4 separate regions of the Homo sapiens genome follow, and all the other regions are linked to region 4. The links are contacts of gene promoters, found by promoter capture Hi-C in human tissues and cell types (Jung and others, 2019). All regions are on one chromosome and are shown on one strand. Each heading gives the region's core, a stretch centred on a gene start or on the middle of the fragment in contact. The rest is flanking DNA. Distances are from core to core; before and after follow the strand shown. Region 1 holds the start of OR7D4 (olfactory receptor family 7 subfamily D member 4). Region 2 has its middle 29 kb from the start of ZNF699. Region 3 holds the start of OR7G2 (olfactory receptor family 7 subfamily G member 2). Region 4 holds the start of ZNF426 (zinc finger protein 426).

The links. Contacts are between HindIII fragments. The study calls those that stand out against the background at their distance.
Region 1: the fragment with the promoter of OR7D4 here is called in contact with the fragment with the promoter of ZNF426 in region 4 in 1 of the 25 tissues and cell types used here (mesendoderm cells).
Region 2: a contact is called between a fragment that was not itself captured here and the fragment with the promoter of ZNF426 in region 4, in 2 of the 25 tissues and cell types used here (liver and spleen).
Region 3: the fragment with the promoter of OR7G2 here is called in contact with the fragment with the promoter of ZNF426 in region 4 in 1 of the 25 tissues and cell types used here (H1 embryonic stem cells).

Annotation. Positions count from the first base shown.
Region 1 is chr19:9,218,072-9,221,418 of GRCh38, forward strand. OR7D4 (olfactory receptor family 7 subfamily D member 4) reads right to left here and starts at 1,518. Exons shown (of 2, transcript NM_001005191.3): 1 at 1,129-1,518. It also overlaps a transcript of OR7E24 not described here. The HindIII fragment of the contact is 21,358 bases long and covers 1-2,931 here.
Region 2 is chr19:9,278,735-9,282,272 of GRCh38, forward strand. It overlaps the pseudogene OR7H1P. Among named protein-coding and RNA genes, the nearest start is that of ZNF699, 29 kb to the right of the region's middle. The HindIII fragment of the contact is 5,089 bases long and covers 1-3,538 here.
Region 3 is chr19:9,105,602-9,109,058 of GRCh38, forward strand. It overlaps OR7G2 (olfactory receptor family 7 subfamily G member 2), which reads right to left and starts at 1,874. Exons shown (of 2, transcript NM_001005193.2): 1 at 1,713-1,874. The HindIII fragment of the contact is 11,921 bases long and covers 1-3,457 here.
Region 4 is chr19:9,536,779-9,540,363 of GRCh38, forward strand. ZNF426 (zinc finger protein 426) reads right to left here and starts at 1,867. Exons shown (of 8, transcript NM_024106.3): 1 at 1,797-1,867; 2 at 1,481-1,567. ZNF426-DT (ZNF426 divergent transcript) reads left to right here and starts at 1,888. Exons shown (of 2, transcript NR_134921.1): 1 at 1,888-2,220; 2 at 2,628-2,952. RefSeq lists enhancers at 1,173-1,908, 1,915-1,964, 2,165-2,234, 2,889-3,585. The HindIII fragment of the contact is 15,089 bases long and covers 1-3,585 here.

The sequences.
Region 1 (3,347 bases), core at 268-2,767, 320 kb before region 4:
TAGACAGTGGTTGCGATTGTTTTGTCTCATCATTTAACAAGGATTTACGTGGTGCCCAGCACATTACTGATTCTGAGCAAGTACAAATTGAAATGTTCTATAAAGACTGGGACCAAAGCATCAACTATAACACAAAATAGAAATCTTCAAGTTTAAGACATGTTTGAATATAGACATAAATTTAATAATACAGTAAATAACATATTCATATCTCTTTTAAAATAATGATAAATGAAGTAGTAATACCAGCTCTAACAATGGAAGCAGGTTTAATGTAAGAATGTCTGCATAATTCATCACAAAAACAGGTCAGTAAAGAGAAATCATAAACAAAATCACAATAGAAAAAATGCATTTGAAAAAGATTATCAACCAGGGCAGATCCTCTCAATAAAGGAAGAAACCAAGGACAATTGCTTAACCCGATAAACAATGGTTGTTTTAATACCACAGGCAACAAGATATGCTATGTTAAAACAGTAAGGGGTTTAAATTCCTGGATACACCAAAGGCCGTCTACTACAATTTCAATCTTTTGATATTTTGGTGAACATGCAAATGGATTTTTTTTTGGGGGGGACATGGTGTCACTTTGTCACCTGGGCTGGAGTGCGGGGTGCAGTCTCAGCTTACTGCAACCTCTGCCTCCTGGGTTCAAGCAATTATCCCATCTCAGTCTCCCGAGTAACTGGGATTGCAGGTGTAAGCTAAGGTGTCAGGCTTTCTTTTTTTGTTATTGTTTAGTAGAGACAGGGTTTTGCCATGTTAGCCAGGCTGGTCTCAGGGTCCTGGCCTCAAGTGATCTGCCCGCCTCGGCCTCCCAAAGTGCTGGGATTATAGATGTGAGCCACTACGTTCAGCCAAGGGATTTTTAATATGAGAAAAAAAATTGGACTGCATGTTGAATGTCAGAAATAATTGTATTATTTCTATATGATATCATGGATACTAAGTTGAAATAGCAAAAACATAACAGCTAGTAAGTGCTGTAAATAAGTCACCATCTCCACCACATCAACCCTACCCCCAATCCCCAGACCACTCTGGGTCTGGTAACCAATAATCTGCCAGGAAAAATATAGAATATAATAGAAAAATCCAATCACATTAGGAACACATAGACAATACCTTGAGCATAGTAGATCTTCCGTGAGTAGTTAATGAATAAGTAACTGGATGTACGAAATTCAACAGGAGACTAAAGTTTATAGGAAAGAGTGCAGGAGAGTTAGAGACTGTTCGGAAAATAACTTATTAAAGACGGGCCCTGGATTCCAAGGAGTGAGAACAGAAGGTGGGAGACACTGGTTTCTGTGAAAACTAAAGTACCATCAAAGTACAGGGACTTCACCTTCATAGACTCAATAAGTATGGGACTTTCCAGGCTCATTACTGTGAAGGCTAGTACTTATTCTCTCTCCTCTTTTCCTTCTTACCCCACCAGCCCTCACTGGGTCACACTAACTCTGATGGTTATCACTGAAGTTTTCTCTTCTACACGATCTGTTCCTAGGAAGCCGTACTGGGTTTTTTCCAAAGGCTGGGAGCAGAGAATTACAGGTGAGGTTGTTTAAACAGGGGCACATTTTAAGTTTCCAGTGTCTCAAGAGTTGAATTCTCAGAGCACCTTATTAAATAAATTGTTCTATTTTCTTCCCACTCTCCAAAGAGTTTGGCTCCCTTTGAGTAGTAAGAAGATGATAGAATGGAAATTTTTCAGTTAATTTTGTGATGAAATAGGCAGTGGTAGGGCATGATGGATTTATTTCCCCCAAGAAGAAATTCTTTCTTCGGTTTAATTTGAAAGTCACAAGTTTTGCCCTAAGGAAAGATTAATTTCTGCAAGGAACTAAACTCAGGAATCATCTCCAAGCGATGTGACTCCCTTGAAGAGTCTTTGGAGATTTTATGGATCCCTCGGTGTTGAAAATTCATGGAAACAAAAATGTCTTTTCTTTTTAAATATTTTTTCAAATTATTTTTATATATTTTTTTAAATTATAGAATTATATGTATGTATCATGTACAACTTGATATTTGGAAATATATATACATTGTGGACATTCAATGTATCTAATTAACATACGCATTATCTCACAGAGTCGTTATCCTGGTGAGAACACTTAATATCCACTCTCTTAGCATTTTCAAAGAATATCATATATATCATCATTAACTAAAGTCATCCTGCTGTACAATAGATCTCTTGAACTTACTTCTCTTATATAGCTGTAATTTTGTATTCTTTTACTAACATCTCCACAACACCAACACTACTCCTCAACCCCAAACCACTCTGGGTCTGGTAACCAACATTCTACTTCTTTGAAATCTGGATTCTATTTCTCTGAGATCACCTTCGTTAGATTCCACATATGAGTGAGATCATGTGATATTTGTCTTTCTGTGCCTCCCTTATTTCACTTAACACAATGTTCTCTGAGTTCATCCATGTTGCAAATGACAGGATTTCCTTGTGTTTTATGGATGAATCATATTCCATTGTGTATATATACTACATTTTCTTTATCCATTCATTTATTTGCAGACAACTAGGTTGATTCTGTGTCTTGGCTACTGTGAATAATGCTCCAATAAACATGGGAGTGCGATATCCCTTCCACACACTGACTTCGTTTCTTATTGATATATACCCAGTAGTGGACTGCTGGATCATATGGTAGTTCTATTTTTAAGTTTTTGAGGAACCTCCATACTCTTTTCCATAATGGTTGTACTAATTTACATTCCTACCAACAGTGTAGAAGGGTTTCCATTTCTTCATATCCTGGCCAGCACTTACTATCTTTTGTCTTTTTAGTAATAGCCATTTGAGATGAAGTGAGGTGATATCTCATTGTGGTTTTCATTTGCATTTCCCTGATGATTAGTGAAGTTAAACCTTTTAAAAATGTATGTTGGGCCGGGCGCAGTGGCTCACGCCTGTAATCCCAGCACTTTGGGAGGCCTAGACGGGCGGATCACAGGGTCAGGCGATCGAGACCATCCTGGCTAAAGGTGAAACCCCGTCCCTACTAAAAATACAAAAAATTAGCCGGGCGTGGTGGCGGGCGCCTGTAGTCCCAGCTACTTGGGAGGCTGAGGCAGGAGAATGACTTCAACCCGGGAGGGGGAGCTTGCAGTGAGCCGAGATCGCGCCACTGCACTCCAGCCTGGGTGACAGAGCGAGACTCGTCTCAAGAAAAAAAAAATGTATGTTGTCCATCTGTGTGTCTTCTTTTGACAAATGTCTTTCAGGTCTTTTGCCCTTTTTTTTTTTTTTTTTTTTTTTTTTTTGAGACGGAGTCTCGCTCTGTCACCCAGGCTGGAATGCAGTGGCGCGATCT
Region 2 (3,538 bases), core at 1,015-3,514, 260 kb before region 4:
AGAAGGGCACAAAGTCCAGAAGGCCGGCCACCACGTAGAGCAGGATGTAATTGACATGTGTGTCTGAGCAGGTAAGCCTGAGGACCTGAGCAAGCTCACAGTAAAAGTGCTGAATGACTCAACTGGTGCAGAAGGACACCCGCAGCACCAACAGACTCTGGATCAGGGAGTATGACAAGCTGAGGAACCAGGACACAAGAACCAGCAGGCCACAGAGGCAGGGGTTCCTGGTGACACAGTAGTACAGGGGGTGACAGATGGCCACATACCGGTCATAGGCCATCACGGTGAGGAGAAATGTGTCCATGCCTCCAAAAACCATGAAAAACATACATCTGGGCGATGCAGTCTGCATAGCTGATGGCATTGCTCTGCACCTGGATGTTCACCAGCATCTTGGGGACTGCGGTGGAGGTGAAACCGATGTCAGCCAGGGACAGATTGGAGAGGAAGAAGTACCTGGGGGTGTGGAGGTGGGAGTCAGAGCTGATGGCCAGGATGATGAGCAGGTTCCCCAGAACGGTGACCAGGTACATGGACAGAAACAGTGCAAAGAGCAACTGTTGATCCTCTAGGTCTTGGGAAAATCCCAGGAGTAAAAATTCTGAAACTCTTGTTTGATTTCCCAAGTCCATGTTGCTGACACATCAGCTAGACAGTTAAGGAAGGGAAGAAACATGAAATAGATGCTGAACAGGCTCCAAAATCTCTCTGCTTTTTTATTTCTTGAGGTGAATAATTGGATACAAAAGCTTTAAAATAGCAAAACTTAGGAATCCTACATTCTGTCATTTGTTATAGGCAACATTTCATAACGTTGACTAACCCCTGTTCATTGGCCTCTCAGAGGCTTACCCATTCCCTTTTTCTCTGCTTTAGAATCATCAAATCTACCAAGAGCAACTTTAGACCTTAGAGATAAAATGGTCTGCACCTGCTCTAACACATATAAGGTTCAGTGAACTTAAGAAAAGGTCAGGGTCATCTTCCTTGTCTAAGACACAACTGAGACTGAAGAAGGTCAGACAACTATGTCTGAGCAGTGAGAAAATATGAAAGCAGAGATAATAGCTAGACAAAATATTGCAAGATGAGTGGATTTAGGTTTTCAAGGAAGGAAAGAGGAAGGGAGGGAGGGAAGGAGGAAGGAAGGGAAGGAAGGAAAGAAGGAAGGAAGGAAAGGAAGAAAGGAAGGAAGGAAGGAAGGAAGGAAGGAAGGAAGGAAGGAAGGAAGGAAGGGTTACTTGTTGCCTTAAGTCCCACTTGGAATTATGGTGGCAGCCAAATTCTGATTCAAATAGGTCATGACATTACCAGTAATAACATTCATCTTAAGAAGCTGACCGCACATTAAAAACTTTCTACCTTAGAACCAGGGTTTCAAAATTAGAGACCAGAAAGATACAGTCATTTGACACTTATATGATTCTCTTTTTCCATCCACATAATAAATATGTCCTAATCTGTTTCTAGTGTCTAGTGTTGGTGCACAATTTTTTTTGTTGTTGTTGGGTTTTTGTTTGTTTTCTTTTCTTTTGAGACAGAGTCTTGAGCTGTCACCCAGGCTGGAGAGTTCAGTGGCGCAATCTCGGCTCACTATAACCTCTGCCTCCCGGGTTCAAACAATTCTCCTGCCTCAGCCTCCTGAGTAGCTGGGATTACAGGTGTGCACCACCATGCCCAGCTAGTTTTTGTAAAAATACAAAACTAACTAGCTAGTTTTTTACAAAAACTAGTTAGTTTTACCATGTTGGCCAGGCTGGTCTTCAACTCCCAACCTCAGGTGATCTGCCCACCTCGGCCTCCCAAAGTGCTGGGATTACAGGCATGAGCCACAGCACGTGGCCTGGTGCATAATTTTTGTTGAGCCGTGCTGGGAAGTACAGAAGAATTGAACTAGGTTGACAACTAGGTTGTCAGTCACTGAAAAAGTGCTAACAGCCATTCTGCAAGAGGGTCTTCTTTGGGCCAGGCTAAGTGTTAGCTGTTGGGGATACAAAGATTAATGATGTGGTCTTTTTTTTCTTATGGTTCCACCTTCCAGAAGATGGATTCAGAAACAGATCATTGTAACACAGTGAATTAAGTGCTAAAATAAAACGATGTACAGAGTGGAGTACAGAGAGGAACCCTCAATCCAGCCTGGAGTAATGCATTCAGGGAAGGAGTCCTGGAGGAAGGAATACCTGGGCAAGGAGTTACCCAGGTGAATGGTTGCACAGGGGCATTTCTGGCAGAGATATAAGCAAGGGAATAAGCCTAGAAGCAAGAAGCAGCATGGGACAGAGTTCTCTTAGCCCTTTGCTGCTGCTTAAGTACAAAGTGTTAGATAGAAACGATGAGGATGATGTTGGAGAGGTGGGCAGGGATGACATGTCTAAGAACTTTGAAAAGTATAATCCATAAAGGATGGGGCTGTGAAGGAACGGCAATCAAAGGAGTAACATGATAGGAATTGCAATTCTCCCTGGGGCCTGGAGGGAAAGATGGATTTAGGGCAGGCAAAACTAAGGATAAGGGAACAGGGTTGGGGATTCTTCATATCATTGGAATTGAGGGGAACAACTCAGGAATATTTTTGCAGAAGAAATACAAAGGCCAGGAGAGGTAAAGGAATGAGGTCAATGTCTTGCTAACAATCTCAGCTTAAGGATGAGACTTGACCTTCAAGTGAAATGAAGGGAATTATGGAAAAGAATCCTGCAGGTTTCAATGCTTCCCTCGTGTTCCCCAGAGGATACGATGTCAAGAGGAGACTGGATGTTGGGCTTGCCTGAGCCCTTCACTTTCCCTCACTCACCCATCGTACCCTAGTTGTTATACACCATGGCCTTCCATTCCAGGGAACACAGACGCTTGTCTCTTGAAGGTGTCTACTTAGAATCATGGATAAGGGTAAAGAAGGATGGGGAAGGATAAGTCTTTCTGGAGAGGCAGGAGATGTTTCCAAGCAAGTGAGGGTCACAGAGAAGAATTCAGAGAGGCTTGATCTAGGCTGAGGGCCTCTGAAGTTCTTGGGTCAGGTAGTAGGTGAAAAGAACTAGAAGTGACCAGGACTTCACTGCAAGGCACCTACAGCTCCTACTGAAACCTGCAGGATTCTTTTCCATAATTCCCTTCATTTCACTTGAAGTCAAGTCTCGTCCTTAAGCTGAGATTGTTAGCAAGACATTGACCTCATTCCTTTACCTCTCCTGGCCTTTGTTTTTCTTCTGCAAAAATATTCCTGAGTTGTTCCCCTCAATTCCAATGATATGAGGAATCCCCAACCCTGTTTCCTTGTCCTTAGTTTTGCCTGCCCTAAATCCATCTTTCCCTCCAGGCCCCAGGGAGAATTGCAATTCCTATCATGTACCTTGGAGCATCCATTTGTACAATGCAGATTGGTCACTCCAAGACCACACAGAGTGATCCAGGGCAGCGCTAAGATATCAAACAGTGCCCCAGGCCAACAAAGAGTAGCCCTTCCTATAACCTCCATCAGTCATCTACCCAAGTAATATACAGGCAAAGTTAAAGCTCGCTATACAATGGCTAT
Region 3 (3,457 bases), core at 624-3,123, 430 kb before region 4:
ACTTTGGGAGGCTAAGGCAGGCGGATCATGAGGTCAGGAGTTCGAGACCAGCCTAGCCAACATGGTGAAACCCCATGTCTATTAAAATTACAAATATTAGCCAGGCATGGTGGCATGCACCTGCAATCCCAGCTACTTGGGAGGCTGAGGCAGGAGAATCTCTTGAACCCAGGAAATGGAGGTTGCAGTGTGCCAAGATTGTGCCATTGCACTCCAGCCTGGGTGACAGAGTGACACTCTGTCTTAAAAAAAAAAAAAGTTTAGCTTGTTTTTTAACAACTGATGTATGATTCACAAAAAAAAGAGAGAAGGGAAGAGAAAGAGAGAGAAAAAGAAAAGGAGAAAGAAAGGAAGAAAGGAAGAAAATTTTTGTATGATAAACAGTGTACAGTGTGAGAAAAATTCTAAACGTTTTTGAACCTGCACAGATATATTCATTTTTATTATAGATTATTCATGTGTGAATTATTCAGAAAGTACGGAGAATAATGAAGGGCTGGCTACCCATCAGTCAACGATATAAGATTCACACAAGGCCAGGCGTGGTGGCTCAAGCCTATAATCCCAGCACTTTGGGAGGCTGAGGCAGGTGGATCACCTGAGATCAAGAGTTTGAGATCAGCCTGGCCAATATGGCGAAACCCCGTCTTTACTACAAATACAAAAAAATTAGCTGGGTGTGGTGGTGTGGTGCACGCCTGTAACCCCAGCTACTTGGGAGGCTGAGGCAGGAGAATCGCTTGCACCTGAGAGGCAGAGGTTGCAGTAAGCCGAGATCGTGCCACTGCACTCCAGCCTGGGTGACAGAGGGAGACTGTGTCTCAAAAAAAAAAAAAAAAATTCACACAATTCACCATCCTTGATTAGATATTTTTATTGCAAAAAGTAAAAAATATTTTTATTGCAATAAAGTGTGTATTTGAGGCTGGGCATGGTGGCTCATGCCTGTAATCCCAGCATTTTGGGAGGCTGAGGCAGGTGGATCATCTGAGGTCAGGAGTTCAAGACCAGCTGACCAATATGGTGAAACTCCGTCTCTACAGGAGAATCGCTTGAACCTGGGAGGCGGAGGTTGCAGTGAGCCGAGATCATGCCACTGCACTCCAGCCTGGGTGACAGAGCAAGATTCCATCTCAAAAAAAAAAAAAAAAAAGTGCATATTTCAAAACCACCGCTTCATGTTTTTGATTTTTTTTCCCTTCCCTAGGGGAACCAGTACACACACTTGATCTATATTATTCTTCTATACCTTTCATTATATTTGATATTATTCTTCCAAATAATAACAATGGCATTGTGTTGCATTTTAAAAGCTTTATATAGCCAGGCACTGTGGCTCACATCTATAATCCGGGTCCTTTGGGAGGCTGAGGCGGGAGTACAAGAGGCCAGGAGTGTAAGACCAGCCTGGGCAACGTAGTGAGAACCTGTGTCTACAAAAAAAATTTAAAAATTTGCAAAGTGTAATGGCATGCACCTGTAGTCCCAGTTACTCAGTAGGCTGAGGCTGAAGGATTGGTTGATCCAGGAATTCAAGACTGCAGTGAGCTATGATCGAGTCACCACACTCCTTCCAGGCAACAGAGTGAGACCTTGTCTCTAAAAAAACCCCAAAAAACAAAACCACCTGCCCTCATTTCCAAAGCATTAATTAACTAAAGGACTTTGGGTTAACTGATTGGCTTCAACAAAAATGATGCTCAACAACTCACATGGATATTGCAGAGGATGATCTATCCTCAGGAAGTGCAGACAGACTCGAGTCCTGGTCAAAAATATCATGTCTGGAAGGAGGTTCTGATGCAGCTTCCGAGCTGGGTAAGAGATGTTCAGTGAGGTGCTTACAGCCTGACTTGTTGCACTGTCTATATCCCTGGGACCTCAATATCCAACGCTCCTCATTACACTGGCTATTTTACCATCGTTCTGATCCCAGGAGTGCACATCCTTAAAGACCAAGACTAGAGGAGTGAGGAATTCGGGATGGCTGAGTCCCTGTCCCCTGAGGCCACGTGTACACCATCCATATCTCTCCATTGTTTCTGCTCACCTCCACTTCACGAATCTTGCTCCCAGAACACATACCATTCGTCTAGTAAAAAAAAGGATTTTGATCTGAAGAATGTGAGTTCTCTTCATTGTCAGACCCGGAAAGACATTAAAATGAGACAGAAACCACACCCCTCCTCCCCTCCTTTGAACTATGCATTCATCTCATAAAACTGCTTGCTGTTGCCACAAGTAGCTATAAATTAACCTAATAATAGCATATGAATTAAAAAGAAATTATTTAGGCAGTTAGTGAGGGTACAGAAGTCCTGGGTAAGGTTTTTCTTTTTAATAAAAAGCAGCCCCCAAATCATTTCTTTTCAGGCAAAAAGTAGCCTGAAAAATCAAGCTGCAAGCATAGGTAAGCAAGCTGAAAGCCTGCGTAGGTGAATGCCAGCAGCTGTGCCAGAAGACAGGTATAACCAACATGAAGGTTTTCTTTTTTCTTCTTTCTTTCTTTCTTATTCTTTTTTTTTTTTTTTTTTTTTTTTTTTTGAGACAGTCTCACTCTATCACCCAGGCCGGAATGCAGTGGCGCCATCTCAGCTCACTGCAACCTCTGCCTCTGGGTTCAAGTGATTCTTGTGCCTCAGCCTCCAGAGTAGCTGGGATTACAGGCGAGTGCCACCACACCTGGCTAATTTTTGTATTTTTAGTAGAGATGAGATTTGATGCTGGGCGTGGTGGCTTATGCATGTAATCCCAGCACTTTGGGAGGCTGAGGTGGGTGGATAACCTGAGGTCAGGAGTTTGAGACCAGCCTGGCCAATATGGTGAAACCTTGTCTGTACTAAAAATACAAAAATTAGCCAGGCGTGGTGACAGGCACCTGTAGTCCCAGCTACTCGGGAGGCTGAGGCAGGAGAATCGCTTGAACCCAGGAGGTGGAGGTTGCAGTGAGCTGAGATCGTGTCCCTACACTCCAGCCTGGGTGACAGAGCAAGACTCCATCTCAAAAAAAAAAACAAAAACAAAAACAAAAAACCCTTAACCTGTAAGCCATCTGCAAGTTTGGGTCTTACATGTAAACTAGCTGGGCACAGTGGCTCACGCCTGTAATCCCAGCACTTTGGGAGGCTGAGGCAGGCGGATCACGAGGTCAAGAGTTCAAGACCACAATGACCAACATGGTGAAACTCCGTCTCTACTAAAAATACAAAAATTAGCCAGCCGAGGTGGCGCACACCTGTAATCCCAGCTATTCAGGAGGCTGAGACAGGAGAATCGCTTGAACCCAGAAGGCAGAGGTTGCAGTGAGCTCAGATTGTGCCACTACACTCCAGCCTGGGCGACAGAGCAAGACTCCATCTTAAAAAAAAAAAATGTGTAAGCTGCCCCAATTTTCCTTGCTTCGTTACCTGTCTTTTAAGGTTCTTCAATCTCTGACCACACAGGTAGTATCTGGCAA
Region 4 (3,585 bases), core at 617-3,116:
GGGTCTTCAAAGAGAACTACCTTTTCATAGTATTTATCTGGTTAATTTTTTTCCACCAAAGTTTGGTTTTATTTGGCTGGGCAGGGTGGCTCACGCCTGTAATCCCAGCACTTTGGGAGCCTGAGGCCAGAAGATCATGAGGTCAGGAGTTCAAGACCGGCCTAACCAACACGGTGAAACTCCATCTCTACTAAAAATACAAAAATTAGCCGGGCGTGGTGTGCGGCTGTAATCCCAGCTACTCAGGAGGCTGAGGCAGGAGAATCGCTTGATCCTGGGAAATGGAAGTTGCAGGGAGCTGAGATCACACCACTGCACTCCAGCCTAGGTGACAGAGCAAGACTCTGTCTCAAAAAAAAAATAATAATAATAATAATGACAATCATTAATTAATCAAACATGAAACAGTGGCTCAAACAATCACCTACAGAATGGGAGTCAAATGATGATAAACAGTGAAAGTTCCGCAGTTCATTATCCATGAACCAAATTCACAAAAACTCTATAGGCCTCCTTCTACCAATAAGACTAAAACCCTAAAGTCACAAAAACCACAGTTCTGGACTCCTGGTATAGATCACACCTACTCCCAGGGGTCTCAAACTAGGGGTCCTAGGGCTGACTAGGCCCACAAATATTCAGTTTGGTGGCATCTGTATAGAATATTTAACTCTTTTTTTTTTTTTTTTTTTGGAGAGATGGAGTCTTGCTATGTTGCCCAGGCTGGTCTTAAACTCCTGGGCTCAAGAGATCTTCCTGCCTCAGCCTCTCAAAGTGCTGGGATCACAGGTGTGAGCCACTGTACCCAGCCAGCTTTTTTTTTTTTTCATTGATATACAATCAATGTAGCTTAAAATGCACACATCCTTCGTTTCTCTTTTTTTTCTTTTGAGACGGAGGCTCACTCTGTCTCCCAGGCTGGAGTGCAGTGGCACGATCTCAGCTCACTGCAACGTCCGCCTCCTGGGTTCAAGTGATTCTCCTGCCTTAGTCTCCCAAATAGCTGAGATTCCAAGACCCCACCACCACGCTCGGCTAATTTTTTTTCTATTTTTAGTAGAGACGGGGTTTCACCATCTTAGCCAGGCTGGTTTCAAACTCCTTAATCCAACCATCCTGTTCATTGTAAATTTGATTATTGTGATACTAGAATAATAAAGCCTTCATCCTTTCCCTCTGGAGGTCTGATTAAGAAGCTCTCTTGGGATGTACAGGCCTAGGAACTCCATTCGAAGATAATGAATTATTATTCTTAGTATTCTTTAGCAGAAAGACTTGCGGTCTACAAACGTTTATATTCACATACACAAATACGCACACCCTATAAACCTAAAAAGCATCTTTATCTTTCGCCATGAAAGTAATGGTCAAAAATAAAACACAACACAATAAGACGAAACCAAACTTACAGATGAAACATTCGTTTGCATAAGAGAAGACAGAAAAGGCCCCCTAGAACCAACTTTCACCCAGTGCTCACCGGAACACTCAGAAATCGCCAGGTCCCTGAACCGGGAAGATCCTGGGGACGGAGCCAACGCGGATGCAAAAGGCAGCAATTATTTTCCTGCCGGAAAAAAATTCACAAACGCTGCTTTGGAGGCCTTTGGAGAGGGGCGCACAGATGAAAACACCCTGCGGACACCGTAACTATAAACCCGACTCCTCCCGAGGAGCGACGGTCCGAGCGGACGCTAGCGGGCCCAGCAGACACGAGCAGAGCGGGCCAGGCCTCTCTAACGTCCGGGCCAAACCCGTCCTTCACCCCAAAACCAGTTCATCTCCTCGGAACTCACCCAGGCCAGTGAGGCCTTAACTCTGAAAGGCAAAAAGACTCTCAGGCGCTCACAGCCGGCGTCACAAAAGGAACGGCGCACCGCTGACGTCATTTACGCTCTCCGCCTCGGGCCAGGCGGGGTTTCGGGACTAGGGTTTCTGCCGTGTAATACCTCCTCGAGGCAGAAAAATTCTACTTTCCATCTGCTTGGCTGCGGAGGACCTTGGGGTGGGCTCAGCGTGGGGGCTGCAGGCAGAAATGGGTCCAGAAGGCAAGGTCGAGGTTAGAGCCAAGCCTGTGGGCAGGGCTACGGGCAGGGGGCGGGGAGGAATGTGGGTCCAGGCCCAGAGGAAAAGGTTGAAGTTATAGCCAGGCCTGTGGGCGAGGCCGCAGCAGGGCGGCCATAGGGGAAGGAGCCAATGTGTTATGCATGTAGAAAATAGGTAACTACGTCTTTTGCTCTGTTACTATTTCAACATTTGATGTAAAAAACATTTTCTATGCAGCTAAAAGAATTGTTTTTAAAAATAATTTCTAGGTTTTCTGCCTTGCTTTAAAACATCTTTTCTTTTTTTTTGAGACAAAATCTCACTCTGTCACCAAGGCTGGAGTTCAGTGGAGCCATCTCAGCTCACTGCAACCTCCACCTCCCAGGTTCAAGCGATTCTCCTGCCTCATCCTCCCAAGTAGCTGGAATTACAGGTGCATGCTGCCACACCCTGCTAATTTTTGTATTTTTAGTAGAGGCAGGGTTTTGCCATGCTGGCCAGGCTGGTCTTGAACTACTTGTCAGGCCTCTGAGCCCAAGTTAAATCATCATAAACCCTGTCACCTGCACGTATACATCCAGATGGCCTGGAGCAACTGAAGAACCACAAAAGAAGTGAAACAGCCAGTTCCTGCCTTAACTGATGACGTTCCACCATTGTGATTTGTTGCTGCCCCACCCCAACTGATCTCTTGACCTTGTGACATTCTTCTTCTGGACGAGTCTCAGGAGTTCCCCACCGAGCACCTTGTGACCCCCGGCCCTGCCAGCAAAAGATAACCACCTTTAACTTTCCACTACCTACCCAAATCCTATAAAACTGCCCCACCCCTATCTCCCTTTGCTGACCCCTTTCTCGGACTCAGCCCACTTGCACCCAAGTGAATAAACAGCCTTGTTGCTAACACAAAGCCTATTGGTGGTCTCTTCACATGGATGTGTGTAACATTTGGTTCCGAAACCTGGGACAGGGGGACTCCCTTGGGAGACTGGCCCCGTCCTCACCCTCACTCCGTGAGGAGCTCCACCTACTACCTCGGGTCCTCAGACTAGCCCAAGGAACATCTCACCAATTTCAAATTGGGTAAGCAGTCTCTTCACTCTCTTCTCCAGCCTCTCTCACTACCCTTCCATCTCTCTGTCCTTCCAATTCCAGTTCTTTTTCCTCTCCAGTAGAGACAAAGGAGACACATTTTATCTGTGGACCCAAAACTCCAGCTCCAGTCACGGACTCAGGAAGACAGTCTTTCCTTGGTGGCTAATCACTGTAGGGATACCTGCCTGATTATTCACCTACATTCCATTGGTGTCTGATCACTGTGGGGATGCCTGCCTTGATCATTCACCCACATTCCCTTGGTGGCAAGTCAATTGCAGGGCTGCCTGCTTTGGCTGCTTACCCACATTACAGCCCAGGGCTGCTCACCCCCACCCCACTCCACTGCCTTCTCCATGTCTCTACCTTTCTCTTTAAACTTACCTCCTTCACTATGGGCAATCTTCTGCCCTCCATTCCCTGTTCTTCTCCCTTAGCCTGTGT